Regions from separate parts of the Homo sapiens genome. Here region 2 is linked to region 1. The links are contacts of gene promoters, found by promoter capture Hi-C in human tissues and cell types (Jung and others, 2019). All regions are on one chromosome and are shown on one strand. The core of a region is centred on a gene start or on the middle of the fragment in contact, and the rest is flanking DNA. Distances in the headings are between cores, read along the strand shown. Region 1 holds the start of EFCC1 (EF-hand and coiled-coil domain containing 1). Region 2 has its middle 18 kb from the start of CNBP.

Region 1 (7,626 bases), core at 1,294-3,793:
AGCTGTTTACAAAGCTCAGTTCCTGTGCAAAGAAAGATCCCAATGGCGCCCTTTCCACTGTGCTTTTCATGTCAAGTTGAATGAGCTACGATTTGCACACTGTAAAATTCAGATGTACACAGTCATGCAACCACTACACCATGAAGATAGAGTATTTCAATCACTCCAAAAAGTTCTTTCATGCCCAAATACATAGAAAAGTCTGGAAATAAATACATCAGAAATACACAGTGATCCTCTCTTGGTGGCAGAATGGTGGATGATTTTTGCTTTTTAGCATTTTCCCGGACCTTTAAAAGACACTTTAAACAATATACTATTTGAAATGGCTCAAACAATACTGAACTGACTTCAGAAAATCATTTCTTTGCCACAGCCCTGACTCTCTCCCACACAGACACACGCCCATCCCCCCAGCTCATACAAAAGAACGCAAGGAGACCTCTGAGTTTGCTCACTTTGAACCTTAAACAAAAACCTTGTGGATGCAACCAGAATTATTTCAGAGGTGCCTGGTAACACCGCAGGGCAGACAGACAGGCCTGACAGCAAACCATTATCAACCCTTACTTCCCTGAGCTGTAGGGGAGTGGAGGCCGGCAACGGCTCCCAGCAAGACATTTAAAAGCTTTCTTTTCAATATTGACTGGCCCAGGAAAGCTACTGTTCAAAGGATTCCTTCACCAGCTGCAGGGATGGGGGGTGGGGAGGGTGTTGCACTCTTGCCTGGGCTACCAGCTCTTAGGGCTGACATGAAATAAAATCAGGTTCTTTTTTTTTTTTTTTTTTTTTTTTTGAGACGGAGTCTCGCTCTGTCGCCCAGGCTGGAGTGCAATGGCAGGATCTCAGCTTACTGCAACCTCCGCCTCCCAGGTTCAAGCGATTCATCTGCCTCAGCCTCCCAAGTAACTGGGATTACAGGCGCCTGCCACCACGCCCAGCTAACTTTTGGTATTTTTAGTAGAGATGGGGGTGGTTCACTATGTTGTCCAGGCTGTTCTCGAACTCTTGACCTCAGGCAATCCACCCGCCTCGGCCTCCCAAAGTGGTGGGATTACAGGCGTGAGCCACCGCGACCGGCCAAGAAAAAGAAACACATGAGAACATCTTAACAAAAGGGAAATACTGCAGTGTCTCCCATCTGCAGAAAGAACCACTGAATCCACTTATGAATCCCTCCATCTTCTTCTGTGCACTCACATACACATGTCCTAGTAGAAAATACTTAGTATTGTTTTGTGTGTTTTTGTTCTTGTTATGTAAGCATCAGTGTTGTGCATAATCAGCTTGTGGCTTGCTGTGTCCGCTCATCCTCGTTTGCTGAGTCCTAGCTGATTTGATGGACACCAGGTTGTCTCCAGTTTCTCACTGTAATAAACAATGATGCAGTGAACATCCTGTGCACAGTGGCTTTCGAAGGTAGAAGCCAAGAAGTGGACGTGATGTAAAAACTTTGTCAAATTGCCATTACTTTTATAATTAAAAACAAACCTAAAAGAATATGTCCAAAATGCTTGGGGAGAAGCCTCTAACTCCTTCCCAGCAGATATGTACTCTGGGCAAAGCCTTCAAGAACAAGTACGAATTTGCCAAATGGACAACGTGCTGATTCTGGGATACTGTGGCAGAGGAGACAGAATGCTATCGCTTTTCAAACGGCAAGATTTTACATTTAAACTCACAGAGTTATCCACAAGGCAAGATTCTGTCTCTGTCATAGCTAGGAACAGCTGAAGAGTCTGCCTCTTGCTCCAACATGGCTGGGTACCGTGGCTGGATAACCGTTCCCGGTGCAGGTAACAGGTGGACAATATCACAATATCACTGCACCCCTCTCGTGAAAAAGAAAGGGAACACAGTCTAGCACTCACCAGAGAAGCAGGTTTTTCTTCATCTTCCAGAAATGTGTTCTAAAACACCAGAAAAAAACATCAGCCAATCATCGACCTGTTAACCTAACCCCAGCTCAAGAGATGGAACTCGGATCCCATTGCCAAGTCAGCACCGGCAGGCACAAAGGTGGCAGGGCCGGGAGACACCACTTTCCCGAGAGTCCTATCCCCACCCCCAACAGGGATCGGGAGAGAGCAGTTAGCACAGGGCTCGTCTCAGATGGGCTTCTCACCAGCGGGGTGCCCCTAACCTAGACCCCTTGCCTCTCCAAGCCTGTTTCCCTCTCTTTCCCAGTTACTACTTGGGGCTCTTTGCACGGTCTATGGTGGCACAAGAAGTGGGTTCGGAAACCCAGTAGCTGAATTGAAGCGGAGGGGAGGCTTTTCCGCACCTACGGCTACAGGGCGGCGAGAGCAGGCTTGCCAGGCAACCCTCGAAAGGCCTTCCGGGAAGAGGGGGAAGAGTGACGCTTGGGTGTGGGGGCACATCCCCAGCAACCGGACGAGGCCGCCACCCCCAAGGCCCTCCTGGGCTTCGGATCCCGCGCCAACCCCTCGCCCAGGTCTCGGAGCGAACTCTCCGCGCCAGGCGGGCGGGGCGGAGGGAGGAGGGAGTTGAGAGTGGACGGCCGGGAGTGGGAGGAAAAGCGCAGACGCCAGGAACGCCCCGTGAGTGAGGAGAGGAGAGCGTGGGAGTCACGCGGAGAAGCCAGACCCAGACGCCGACCGGGCACTGGTGGCGCTGCCGGGGTCCCGGGGGTTCCTGGACCCCCTACCCCAGGCCCCTCCAAAGCAACTGGGGTAAACCAGACGCACTGTGAGGCCAGCGCAGCTGCTGGACACGGTCCCCGGCGCCGCTCCAACCAGACCGCGACCGCTAAGCCCCTCCTTTCGAGAAACTCTGGGGCCGCCCCTGGAAGTGGCGGGGCGAAGGGACCGGAGGAGGGACCGGAGGAGCGAGGCGCGCGGCGCAGCGATGGAGCCGGTCAGCACGGGCGCGGAGGCCGGCATGGAGGGCGCGGGAGGTGACCCGTACCGGCGACCTGCGCGGCGCACGCAGTGGCTGCTGAGCGCCCTGGCGCACCACTACGGGCTGGACCGCGGCGTGGAGAACGAGATCGTGGTGCTGGCCACCGGCCTGGACCAGTACCTGCAGGAGGTCTTCCACCACCTGGACTGCCGCGGCGCCGGCCGTCTGCCCCGCGCCGACTTCCGAGCGCTCTGCGCTGTGCTGGGGCTGCGCGCGGAGGGGGCCACCACGGCCGGGCAGGCAGCAGGTGACGGGAACTCCAGAGATGTGACCCCCGGGGATGCGGCCGCTGAGTTGGCCACGGACGGGGACTCAGATACCGATGAAGAGGCGCGCCTGGCGCTGCGCGCCGAGCCGCCGGAGCTCACCTTCCGCCAGTTCCACGCGCGCCTCTGTGGCTACTTCGGCACCCGTGCGGGGCCCCGGCTGCCCCGCGGCGCTCTCAGCGAGCACATCGAGACGCAGATCCGCCTGCGCCGTCCGCGCCGCCGCCGCCGCCCGCCCTGCGCGCCTGGCCCCGACAGCGGTCCTGACTGTGAGCGCGTTGCGCGGCTGGAGGAGGAGAATAGCAGCTTGCGCGAGTTGGTGGAGGACCTGCGCGCCGCGCTGCAGAGCAGTGATGCGCGCTGCCTAGCACTGCAGGTGCGCGCCGGCCACGAAGGGAGGGTGGTAACGCCCGGGAGAGGGCTCGAACTAAAAGCTGGCTGGCTGCGGAGCCCGACAGGACAGAGTCAGAGGAAGGGGAGACAGAGGGCAGCCCCACACCATCCCACTCCGCATCAGCACACTTGCATCTTGCCCCTGTTCCTCCCCATTCCACTCCAGTCCCCAACCCTATTCTTACCACCTATTCCATTCCTGAAAACCCCAATCACACTCAAACAACCATACCCCACTTTTCTGCTCCACCGCCACATCATCGCGTCTTGCCCCTTTAACCTAGGAATTGCACCTGTCTGGGTAGTCTCACATATTCCCTTTCAACAAGCATCTTTCTCTCTCCTTCCTGCCAGGCTTCTGGGAGGTTTAGGAGACAGAAGTGTGAAGAAGGCCCTGTCCTCACCTTTAGGGATATCCCTGCCTCCTGGGGTAGACTGACAGCTCCTTCTGTCAATCAGCAAAGACTTATGGGGCTCCCTGTGGGAGAAACAGAGACAAGTGAGAAACAGACAATGTGGCTCACACTGTGGATCAGGCACTCACGGGCCACCAAGTGCCTGCGGGAACCAGACCCGCTCTGGGCTATTGAGAAGAAACCATGGGGTGAGATAGGGACCCAGCCTTAGCATCTGGGAGCCGTCGACAAACACTTAAGCACTGTGCCAGCCGAGCACCAAGGGCAGTGCTGGGCCGCAGGGGTCAGAGGAGGAAAGGAACAGCCCCTACCCCAGGCGACAACAGGCCAGGAAGAAACTGACATTATATGACCCCGCCTTAGCTCAGGACACTGCAGAGTGCAGGGAAGTGGCAAGGTGTGGTTTTCAGTGTCAGTGTGCATGGAAGCCAGGGTGGAGGCGGGAAACTACTCCTCTGATGTGGAATCCCAAGTAACGTACTGGGAGCCATGGGATGCGCCTGAACGGTCTTCCGGCATCTCTCATGCTTGGTATTTATTGAGCACCTACTATGTGCCAGGTTTGTTTTAGGCTCTGGGAACACACCAGTAAAGACAGATAGAAACCACCCTCAAAAGCCTCTAGTGAGCAGGCACGGGGAGGGCTGGAAATGCCACTGGGGGGAGTCTAGGAGATGAGGAACCGCCACCCGGCAGGCTGAACGCCGCCAATACAGTAGGCCGAGAAGAGTCGCGAGGTTGGTACTATAGAGGGAACAGAATACAGGCGTCGTGTCTCAGTTTCCTTCAGTGAAAAAACGTTGGGGGGTGGGGGATGAGGAGGAATCAGAGCTTGGGCCTCCCTGGGGATGTGGCGAGGGTTAAAGGAGCTTGGACGCACCGGACCTAAGGGCCTGGCACCCGGAAGCAGACGGCGCAAGAAACGTGCTCAAGCGCTTCTGGGTGCAGAGGCATGGGGCCGCCGTCGTGGCGGGCGTTCGTCTGGTGCATCTGGCTGGGGCACTTACCCCCTGCCCCTGCTGCCCTGTCCCCGCAGGTCGGACTCTGGAAGAGCCAGGCGAGCACCCACGAGATGGGGCACGGCGGGCCGGAGGCTGCGGTGCGGGAGCTGCGTCAGGCGCAGGGCGCCCTGGCTGCGGCGGAGGCCCGCGCTGGGCGGCTGCGCCGTGGCCAGGCCGAGGTGCGGCGGCGCGCGGAGGAGGCCCGGCAGGTGGTGCTGCGCAGCCTGCACCGCGTGCGAGAGCTGGAGGCGCTGGCGCAACAGGTGCCCGGCTTGCAGCGCTGGGTGCGGCGGCTGGAGGCGGAGCTGCAACGCTACAGGTGAGCGGGGGCGCGTGCCCTGGGCCCAAGTTCCCCAATTCGGCTCCCATTTTCCCAAACTTCGGGTGTGCAATCCCCCTCCCACGCGCTCTCGTGTTCCGCAGTTTCTCCATGCGTTTATTCATGTATTCTTTCATTCCTTTGTCAGTTCTCCATTTCTTAAGTTATAAGTCTGCTCCATTGCTTGCTCTGCAACCATCTGCCCACCCATCCATTTATCCATCCATCTGTCCATCCATTCACCCACCCCACACACCCACCCATCCATCCATCCATTTGTCCATTCACTCACCCCCCCCACCCACCCATCCATCCACTCACCCATCCATCCACTCACCCATTCATCCATCCACCTATCCACTCACCTACCCACCCGTCCATCCATCTATTCATCCATCCACTCACTCACCCACCCATCCACTCACCCACCCACCCATCCATCATCCATCCATCCCCCCACCCACCCAGCCAGCCAGCCGTCCATCCATCCTCCTGTTCATCCACAAACACCCTCTATTTGTTTATCATAGATTGCAGTTGAATGTGCTCATTCTTATTTGTTCCTGGATTCGATCATAATGATAATAGCTTACAGTTACTAAGCACTCGCTGTTTGCCAGGCCTTGAGCTAAGTACTTTATGTGGCTTAACTCATTTAAGCCTCACAGCTGCCCTGTGAGGTGGGTACTGCTATGTTTCCACTCTGTAGATGAGGAAACAGGTGTGTAATGACTGCCTGTGCTAGCTCCACCAGGGCAGGAAGCTGGACTTGGGACCCAGGTTCAAATCTTGGCAGGGCTTTTGGCAGACGTGTGAGTGTGGGCAAGTCACCACCCCTCACAGACCCTGCTTCCTCTTGGGTGGAACACAGATTGGGGTCCCTGCCTGTGGGAGTGGCTGTGAAGAGGCCATGAGGTCCTGCCTGGCACATGGTAGATGCTTGGTAGACAGAGCCTCTCTCCCTTTCAAATCACAAGTCACCCCTGCCTGCTGGCCGGCCTGACTACACATTTGCTGAGCACTTTCTGTGTGCCAGGGGCCATCCCAGGCATCAGGGATGTGACCACGTGACTAGGACAGACTGAATTCCCTGCCCTGAGCAGCCACCTGTGAGCAGGTGAGACCTTCACAGGAACAGATGCGTGGCAGCAGGCAGGAGGTGGGGGACACTCATCAGCCTGCCCCCAAAGAAGTGACACTTGAGGATAGGATGTTACCGGGCCAGATGGAGAGAGGAGAAGAGAGAACATTCCATTCTAGAAAATTGGAACAGTACGGGCAAAGCCCTAGGGCAGAAGGGACCATTCAAAAACTAAAAGGAGGCCAGAGTGGCTGGAGGGGTAGAGCTGAAGGGAGGCCCATTTAGGGCCTGGAAGGTGGCAGCAAGGATTTCAGTTTTTCCCTTAAGAGAAAGAACATGAAACCATGGAAAAGTTTTAAGTAAGGAGGTGACAGAAGCAGATTTCAATAAAAAGTTACCCTGGCTACAATGTGACAAAGAGATGGGCAGATGGGGAGAGCAGGAGACAGTGCAGAGCCCAGTGAGGGGCTCCTGCCATCCCTGATCCTGAGAGGAAGGTGGTCTAGCCCAGGCTGGGGGTGGAGCAGCCAGAAGGGGTGGCCTTGAACCTACTGGACATCTGAGAAGCTCACAGCTGGGAGATGGTAAGGCATGGGGCTAGAGGGAGGCCTCCAAAGAGGCAGACTCTGGGCCAGCCTCCTGCAGCATGCAGTGTTTGGAGAGCCACTTCCTGTTTGCATAGCTGATGGCTAAAGAGCAGGGCTGGTTGGCTTGAGGCCCACATCCAGCCTTGGAACTTTATCCAAGAGGAGAAATAAAGGGGCTCTTCTTTGTTTATTTCTAAAATCACAACTAGTCCTCTATAGCAGAATGCTACAAGTGACTACAAACATTGGCATAGCCCTTTACAATAGAAAAAGTGGATTCATAGCCAATGCACCATTTAGTCCCCATAAGGTTGTACAAGGTAGATGTTTTATCCCCAGTTTACAGATTGTGAGAAATGAGGCACTGAGAAGTTAAGTAATGTACCCAAGGCCACACAGCCAGAAAGTAGGAAAGTCAAATCAGCCTGGCCCCACTGCCTGTGTGCTTCGATTCACAGTTACACGATGGCTGCTGTGCCTCCAGACCTTGCATCTGCTGATCGGGCATAAGAAGAAACCTGCGAGGCTAGTCCTGTTAGTCAGTCCCAAACAAAACTGGAGTTCTGTTTTTTGTTCGTTTGTTTGTTTTTTGAGACAGTCTTGCTCTGTCACCCAGGCTGGAGTGCAATGGTGCGATCTTG
Region 2 (7,626 bases), core at 2,898-5,397, 200 kb after region 1:
ATCAGACCTATAGACCCTTACTCACTTTCTCCTAATACCTACTTTGATATATTTCTTTTTTTCTTTTTTCTTTTTGAGAAGGGTCTCACTTTATCACCCAGGCTGGAGTGGTGCAGTGGCACGATCTTGACTCACTGCAACCTCTACCTCCTGGGTTTAAGTAATTCTCCTGCCTCAGCCTCCCAAGTAGCTGGAATTACAGGCACCCACAACCATGCCCAGCTAATTTTGTTGTTGTTGTTGTTTTGAGACAGAGTTTCGCTCTGTCTCCCAGGCTGGAATGCAGTGGCGTGATCACAGCTCACTGCAACCTCTGCCTCCCAGGTTCAAGTGATTCTCCTGCCTCAGCCTCCTGAGTAGCTGGGACTACAGGTGCCCGCCACCATGCCTGGCTAATTTTTGTACTTTTAGTAGAGGCAGGGTTTCACCATGTTGGCCAGGCTGGTCTCGAACTCCTGACCTCAAGTGATCCGCCCGCCTCGGCCTCCCAAAGTGCTGGGATTACAGGAGTGAGCCCCTGTGCCAAGCAATCTATTTCTATGTGAAGGAGAATACACTGGGTTGTTACACAGGGGCATAAAAGGTGAAATTATATCTTAGGATTCACAGTAGAGAGGAAAAAAAGCTAACTCTGCCAACTAAAATTATAGAAGGTCTTGAAAACAAATCTCATCATTTCATGAAAACAAATCTCATCATTTCATTATATGTTTCTAAATTGCAGGCTGGGTGCAGTGGCTCACGCCTGTAATCCCAGCACTTTGGGAGGCTGAGGTAAGATCACTTGAGGCCAGGAGTTTTGAGACTAGACTGGGCAACAAAGTGAGACCCCTGTCTCTACAAAAAAATTAAAAAATAAAAATTAGCCGAGTGTGGTGGCACATACCTAGAGTACTCTAGCCTGGGTGACAGAGCAAGACTGTCCCTAAAATAAAATAAATTAAGAGCAGACTCTACAGGCTCAGAGTAGACAAGGTCCTGGTATCTAATAGCGTACTTGGCACATGGGCCTTCAATGAACTATTTTTTTTTTTTTTTAGATGGAGTCTCGCTCTGTTGCCCAGGCTGGAGCACAGTAGTGCAATCTCGGCTCACTAAAAGCTCCGCCTCCCGGGTTCATGCCATTCTCCTGCCTCAGCCTCCCGAGTAGCTGGGACTACAGGCACCCGCCACCACGCCTGGCTAATTTTTTTTTTCAGTGGAGACGGCATTTCACCGTGTTAGCCAGGATTGTTTCGATCTCCTGACCTCGTGATCCGCCCACCTTGGCCTCCCAAAGTGCTGGGATTACAGACGTGAGCCACCGCGCCCAGCCAATGAACTATTATTGAATGAATACCTCATTTTCCCTCTTGGCATCACACCTGAGATTGCCTGATTTGTACGTTGTCCTCAGAGCCAGCATTTATTACATTGCATTTGAGAGTCGCTAAGACAAGGCATTTTCCACACGCTTTTCCTGTTTTTTAAGTACCTTCCAACCTTGATTTGCTGATAACAGCAGTTGGCTTGTATTTTATGCTGGCCTTTGCAATGATACAGCAAATGGAATCTGGAATCTCCGGAATCGATGTCAATATGAATAGTTTCTAAGTGGAACTGCCATACAATGAGGAAGTTATCACTTACCCACAAGAGGTCTGTGACTTTGGAATCAAGTATATATAAGAAGTACTTTTTACACTGTAATGTGCTACTCAAATGTTTTGTTGTTATTATTATATCAGAAAACAACCCACAGGACCTTATAAATAATAATGATTCCAGTCATGTTCATCCTATGTGACAAAGCAATGGTTCTCAACATTTTTGGTCAGCTAATCACTTTGGCAAAATATCTCAAAACTTCGTATCTCAATTACCCATACTACTCAGTCCAAGAGTTTTGCCAGAATAAATAGGAAGAGTAGAGCTACTTTTAATTTCTGGTTTCCATTAGCCTTCTGCTGGGAAAGAGAAAAGAGATAGAGTAGAAAAGAGTTTCAAGTACAAGGGTCCATGACCTCCAAAGTCAACTACGTTGAGATTCTTGATGGTGAAGCAACAAGACAAGAAGCCAGGCTAAACATTGGCGACCCAGAAAAGGAGATAGAAAGGCCAGAGAATGCAAGACCTGCCACCCCGTGCCTGCTTTCACCTCCTCATCTGTACTTGCTGGTGTTTCTTTTTTTTTTTTTTTTTTGAGATGGAGTCTCGCATTGTCGCCCAGGCTGAAGTGCACTGGTGTGATCTCGGCTCACTGCAAGCTCCGCCTCCTGGGTTCACGCCATTCTCCTGCCTCAGCCTCCCGAGTAGCTGGGACTACAGGCATGAGCCACCACGCCTGGCTAATTTTTGTACTTTTAGTAGAGGCAGGGTTTCACCATGTTGGCCAGGCTGGTCTCGAACTCCTGACCTCAAGTGATCCGCCCGCCTCGGCCTCCCAAAGTGCTGGGATTACAGGCATGAGCCACCGTGCCCGGCCACTTGCTGGTGATTCTGAAGGATCTGTCCTTTGCGGTGTCCCTCCTTGCTCTCCAGAATCTTCGCTTCAACTCCCATCTAAGATGAAAGGAGCCAACTAAGCTCACTTCGGGGCAGCTGGTCATTGCCTTTAGGGAACACGAGATTAGCGTTGCCAGATATCTGACCTTTTGGCAGAAGTTAAAATTCTTGATATTTTTGAGAATCTTCTAATTTTCAACTGTTGGCAACTTATTTAAAAGATTGTTCTGGCCAAATGAAACCCATTAGCAGGATGGATTTTGCCCACAGACCACTGGTGACTGATGACACATTTTCAAGCTTTACCCCTCACGTCTTTCTCTCTCGTTTTTTTTTTTTTGTTTGTTTGTTTGTTTTAAGATGGAGTTTCACTCTTGTTGCTCAGGCTGGAGTGCAATGGCACAATCTCGGGTCACTGCAAACTCCGCCTCCCAGGATCAAGCAATTCTCCTGCCTCAGCCTCCCAAATAGCTGGGATTACAGGCATGTGCCACCACGCCCAGCTAATTTTGTATTTTTTTTTTTTAGTAGAGATGGGGTTTCACCATGTTGGCCAGGCTGGTTTCTAACTCCTGACCTCAGATAATCCACCCGCTTTGGCCTCCCAAAGTGCTGGGATTACAGGTGTGAGCCACCACACCCAGCCCTCACCTCCTTTTTGAATTTGGGACTTGTATCTTTACTTAAAATTTGGATAGATTAAACCGGGCATTTCCACACACTGTTCAAATACAACTCATTTAAACTACAATGTACTTTACCAAATATACAAACAAGCAAACAAAACCAGCTTATCATTTTAAAGTCTGTGTCAGCCACCACTCATCTGTTAGTCCAGATTAGAAGCCTTGGAGTCATCTGTGGTCCTTCTCTCTACTTTGTCTCTCACCTGCAATTCCTTCCTTAAGCACCAAATGCCAGGTATTAAGCTAAACACTGAGGATACAAAGCTTAGCCAGTGGTGGTGTGGGTGCTTGTACTCCCAGCTTACTTAGGAGGCCAAGGCAGGAGGATTGCTTGAGCCCAACAGGTCAAGTCTGCAGTGACCCATGATCGTGCCACTGCACTCCAGCCTGGACAACAGAGTGAAACCCTGTCTCTAAAAAGTAAAATATAAAAATAAAACTAAAGTTGAAAAGACAGCCCAGGCCAGGCTCTGCAGCTGTTAATGTCTATGGGTAGAAGGCAACAAGTATTTACAAAACAGTATTTACCAAGTATTATAACAGACATATACAAAATGCCACATGATCTTGTTTAATCCACACAATAATCTTGTGAAATAGTGTCTTTTTAATAACAGCTTTATTGAGATATAATTGACATACCATAAAAGCCACCCTTTTAAAATGTACAATTCAGTAGGTTTTAGTACATTCATAGTGCCATGACATCAAATTAGTTGTTATCACTAATTCCAGAACATTGGGTTTTTTAAAAATTTTGATAGAGATGAAGTTTCACTGTGTTGCTCAGGCTGGTCTCAAACTCCTGAGTAAAGTGATGCAAAGTGCCTTGGCCTCCCAAAGTGCTGAGATTACAGGTGTGAGCCATGGTGGCCAGCCCAGAACATTGTTTTGAGCAGTTTTAAGTTCATAGCAAAATTGAGCAGAAAGTACAGAGTTCCCATTCATTCCCTGCCCCCACACATGCATAAACAAGGATCAGCATCTCCACTAGAGTGATAGATTTGTTACAATCAATGAACTTTCACTGATTCATCATTACCCCCAAAAGTTCATAATTTACATTAGGGTTCACTCTTGGTGCCATACATTATATGGGTTTGGACAAAAGTATAACGATATGTATCCACTTTTGTAGTATCATACAGAGTGGTTGTCACTGCCCCCAAAATCTCTGTGCTCTGCCTATTCATCACTCTCTCCTAATCCTTGGCAACCTGGACTTCTCCGTATTTTTGCTTTTCCAGACTGTTATGTACAGTATTTGGAATCACACAGTATGTAGCCTTTTCAGATTGGCATCTTTCACTTAGTGATACGCGTTTATGGGTCCTCCATGTCTTTTCATGTCTTGATAGTTCATTTTTTAGTGCTGAATGCTATTCCATTGTCTGAATGTACTACAGTTTATCCATTCACCTGCTGAAGGACATCTTGGTGGCTTCCAAGTTTTGACAATCATGAATAAAGCTGGTATAAGCATCTGTGTGCAGGTTTTTTGTGGACATATTTTCAGTTCATTTGGTTAAATAACCACAAAGCAAATTGCTGGTTCATATGGTAGGAGTATATTTAATTTTTGTAAGAAACTGCCAAATTGTCTTCCAAAGTGTCTGTACCATTTGCCCTTCCCCTGAGCAATGAATGAGAGTTCCTGTTGCTCAACATCCTTGTCAGCATTTGATATTGTCAGTGTTTTAGATTTTGGCCATTCTAATAGATGTGTAATAGTATCTCATTTTTGTTTTAATTTGCAATTCCCTAAGGGCATATGATATATAGTTTGGATATTTGTCGCCACTCAAATCTCATGTTGAAATGTAATCCCTAATGTTGGAGGTGGGGCCTGGTGGAGGGGTTTGGGTCATGGGGCAGATCCCTCATGGCTTGGTGCTGTCCTTGCAATGGTGAGTGAGTTATCATAAGATTGGTTGTTTAAGCGTGTGGCACCTTCCCCCTACACTGTCTTGCTCCTGCCTTCACCATGTGATGATGTGCCTGCTCCTGCTTCACCTTCCATCATGAGTGAAAGCTCCCCGAGGCCTCCCCAGAAGCTGATAAGATAGATGCTGGTGCCATGCTTGTACAGCCTACAGAACTGTGAGAAATTAAACCTCTTTTCTCAATAAAATACCCAGTCTCAGGTATTTCTTTTCTTTCTTTTTTTTTTTTTTTTGAGATGGAGTCTCACTCTGTCGTCCAGGCTGGAGTGTGGTGGCGCAATGTTGGCTCACTGCAACCTTCACCTCCCAGGGTCAAGTGATTCTCCTGCCTCAGCCTCCCAAGTAGCTGGGATTACAAGTGCATGCCACCATGCCCAGCTAATTTTTGTATTATTAATAAAGATGGGGTTTCACCATGTTGGCCAGGCTGGTTTTGAACTTCTGGCCTCAAGTGATCCTCCTATGTTGACCTCCCAAACTGCTGGGATTATAGGTGTGAGCCACCATGCCCAGCCTGGCTACTTTTAAGTTTCCATTTCTCTCCAGCAATAACTAATCTTTTCATTCATTATGTCTGTTGTAACCTTTAACATATTGATAATAGTTGCTTTATATTTAAATTTTTGTTAATTTATTTAGAGATGGGATCTTGCTCTGTTGCCCAGGCTGGAATGCAGTGGTACAGTCATGGCTCACTACAGCCCTAAACTCCAGGAGTCAGGTAATCTTCCTGCCTCAGCCTCCTGAGTAGTTGGGACTACAGGCAGGAGCCACTGTGCCCAGAGTGTCCTCATACCTTAAATGCACAATTTCTGTTGCTTACAGTCCAATAACCATTACTGAGTGCTATAGAAATACCAAAAAAACATACATTTTGAAAACAGTCAGAACAGGGTTTGAATCAGGACTTTATCTTGGAGCAAGTTCTTCAACCTCTGTGAGCTCAGTTTTCTTGTCTCCAAAACATAGATCATCTTCACATGACTTTGTGAGGCTTAAATGAAATGAGATTGCATATGTAAAAGTGCCCAGCTCAAGCCTAGTATTTACTGGCCACTGAATAATTATTAGTTTCATTCCCCCTGTACCTATATTATACAAAAAACAAAAGAGGCATTAAAATAGACATCATATTTCTTCATGTGAAAAGCTGTTTTATACGGTTTTATACACAGTTTGAATAGGTAGGAATAATATACAAATTCTGATCAAAATCATAAAATAAAGCTAGGAAATTTTAATTAGTTGAAACTTTAGAAAAACTAAGTAAATAAACTAAATAACTGAATAAATTTAGAATTAAAAAGTAGATATTACCCGAATTTTGGTATGTAAATGAATGTAAAAAACATATAGCCAAAATCACATTAGCAAAAATTCTGTTTCTGCATCAGCCCTGAACCTGCATTTGCTTATAAGTAACATGGTAATTTAACAGGATTCATTTAATTCTTGGCTCCTACTAAAGAGACACTGTCCCTGCCCACGGGCTACACTCCAATAGAGAAGAATACAGAACCAAATGCAGTAGAACTCTGGCAAATGATTCAATAATTCATTCTTCAGTTAATAGGGTTGCAAAAAAAAAAAGTACACTCAGCAAACATTTATTGAGAACCTACTGTGTGACAGGCATGTTCCAGGCACTGCAGATGACACAGAGGATCATCTGGCTTATGGAGTTGTTGTTGTTGTTGTTGTTTTTGACACAGGGTCTCTCTCTGTTGCCCAGACTGGAGTGCAGTGGCATGATCTCGGCTCACTGCAACCTCTGCCTCCCAAGCTCAAATGATCCTCCCACCTCAGCCTCCCCAGTAGCTGGGACCACAGGTGTGAGTCCCAGCTAATTTCTGTATTTTTTGTAAAGATAGGGTCTCCCTATGTTGCCCAGGCTGGTCTCGAACTCCTGGCTTCAAGCAATCCACCCACCTTGGCCTCCCAAAATGCTGGGATGATAGGTGTGAGCCACTGTGCCCAGCCTTATGGAGTTTACTTTACCAGGGCTGTGTTTAGAGAGAGCTTTGCCAAAACATAAACACACAAACACTGCCAACGGGAGAATGCCACGTAGTGAGGTAAGCAAACAATGGCAACAACAAAGTTCTCCCGCTCTCAGCCAAGAAAAGCCCAACTCTATGCCTTAGCAGAATGACCAAGTAACACTGTCCTGGACCTTCAGGGTCACCAGAGAACAGGCCAAACTAAGACTGCTTCAGCCTACAAATGACAAGAGCCTACCATACAAGCAGAGTATTCTATGACACCAGGACACGCTAAAGCCATGTGGGCCTCTGTGGTCTAGGTTTGCCTCTCCCTGCAGCCACATGGGCTGTGGAGAGTTTTTGGGAGTTTCCTGCCTTCATGCCCTGCACATACTCTGCCTGGACCACTCTTGTGCTTGCCGTTCCTGCCAACTCCCAGGTGAACCACGCATCCTTGGGTCACAGTCTTTGCAGGCAGTGACCCACACACCCTCAGGAGGAGATGCCCTGGCAGAGCCCCGCCCCCACTCC

Evidence for each region. Contacts are between HindIII fragments. The study calls those that stand out against the background at their distance.
Region 2: a fragment that was not itself captured here is called in contact with the fragment with the promoter of EFCC1 in region 1 in 2 of the 25 tissues and cell types used here (IMR-90 fibroblasts and liver).

What each region holds. Positions count from the first base shown.
Region 1 is chr3:128,998,761-129,006,386 of GRCh38, forward strand. EFCC1 (EF-hand and coiled-coil domain containing 1) reads left to right here and starts at 2,544. Exons shown (of 8, transcript NM_001377500.1): 1 at 2,544-3,564; 2 at 5,034-5,317. The coding sequence starts at 2,869. It also overlaps a transcript of CFAP92 not described here. The HindIII fragment of the contact is 14,506 bases long and covers 215-7,626 here.
Region 2 is chr3:129,198,098-129,205,723 of GRCh38, forward strand. No RefSeq gene overlaps it. Among named protein-coding and RNA genes, the nearest start is that of CNBP, 18 kb to the left of the region's middle. The HindIII fragment of the contact is 6,057 bases long and covers 1,120-7,176 here.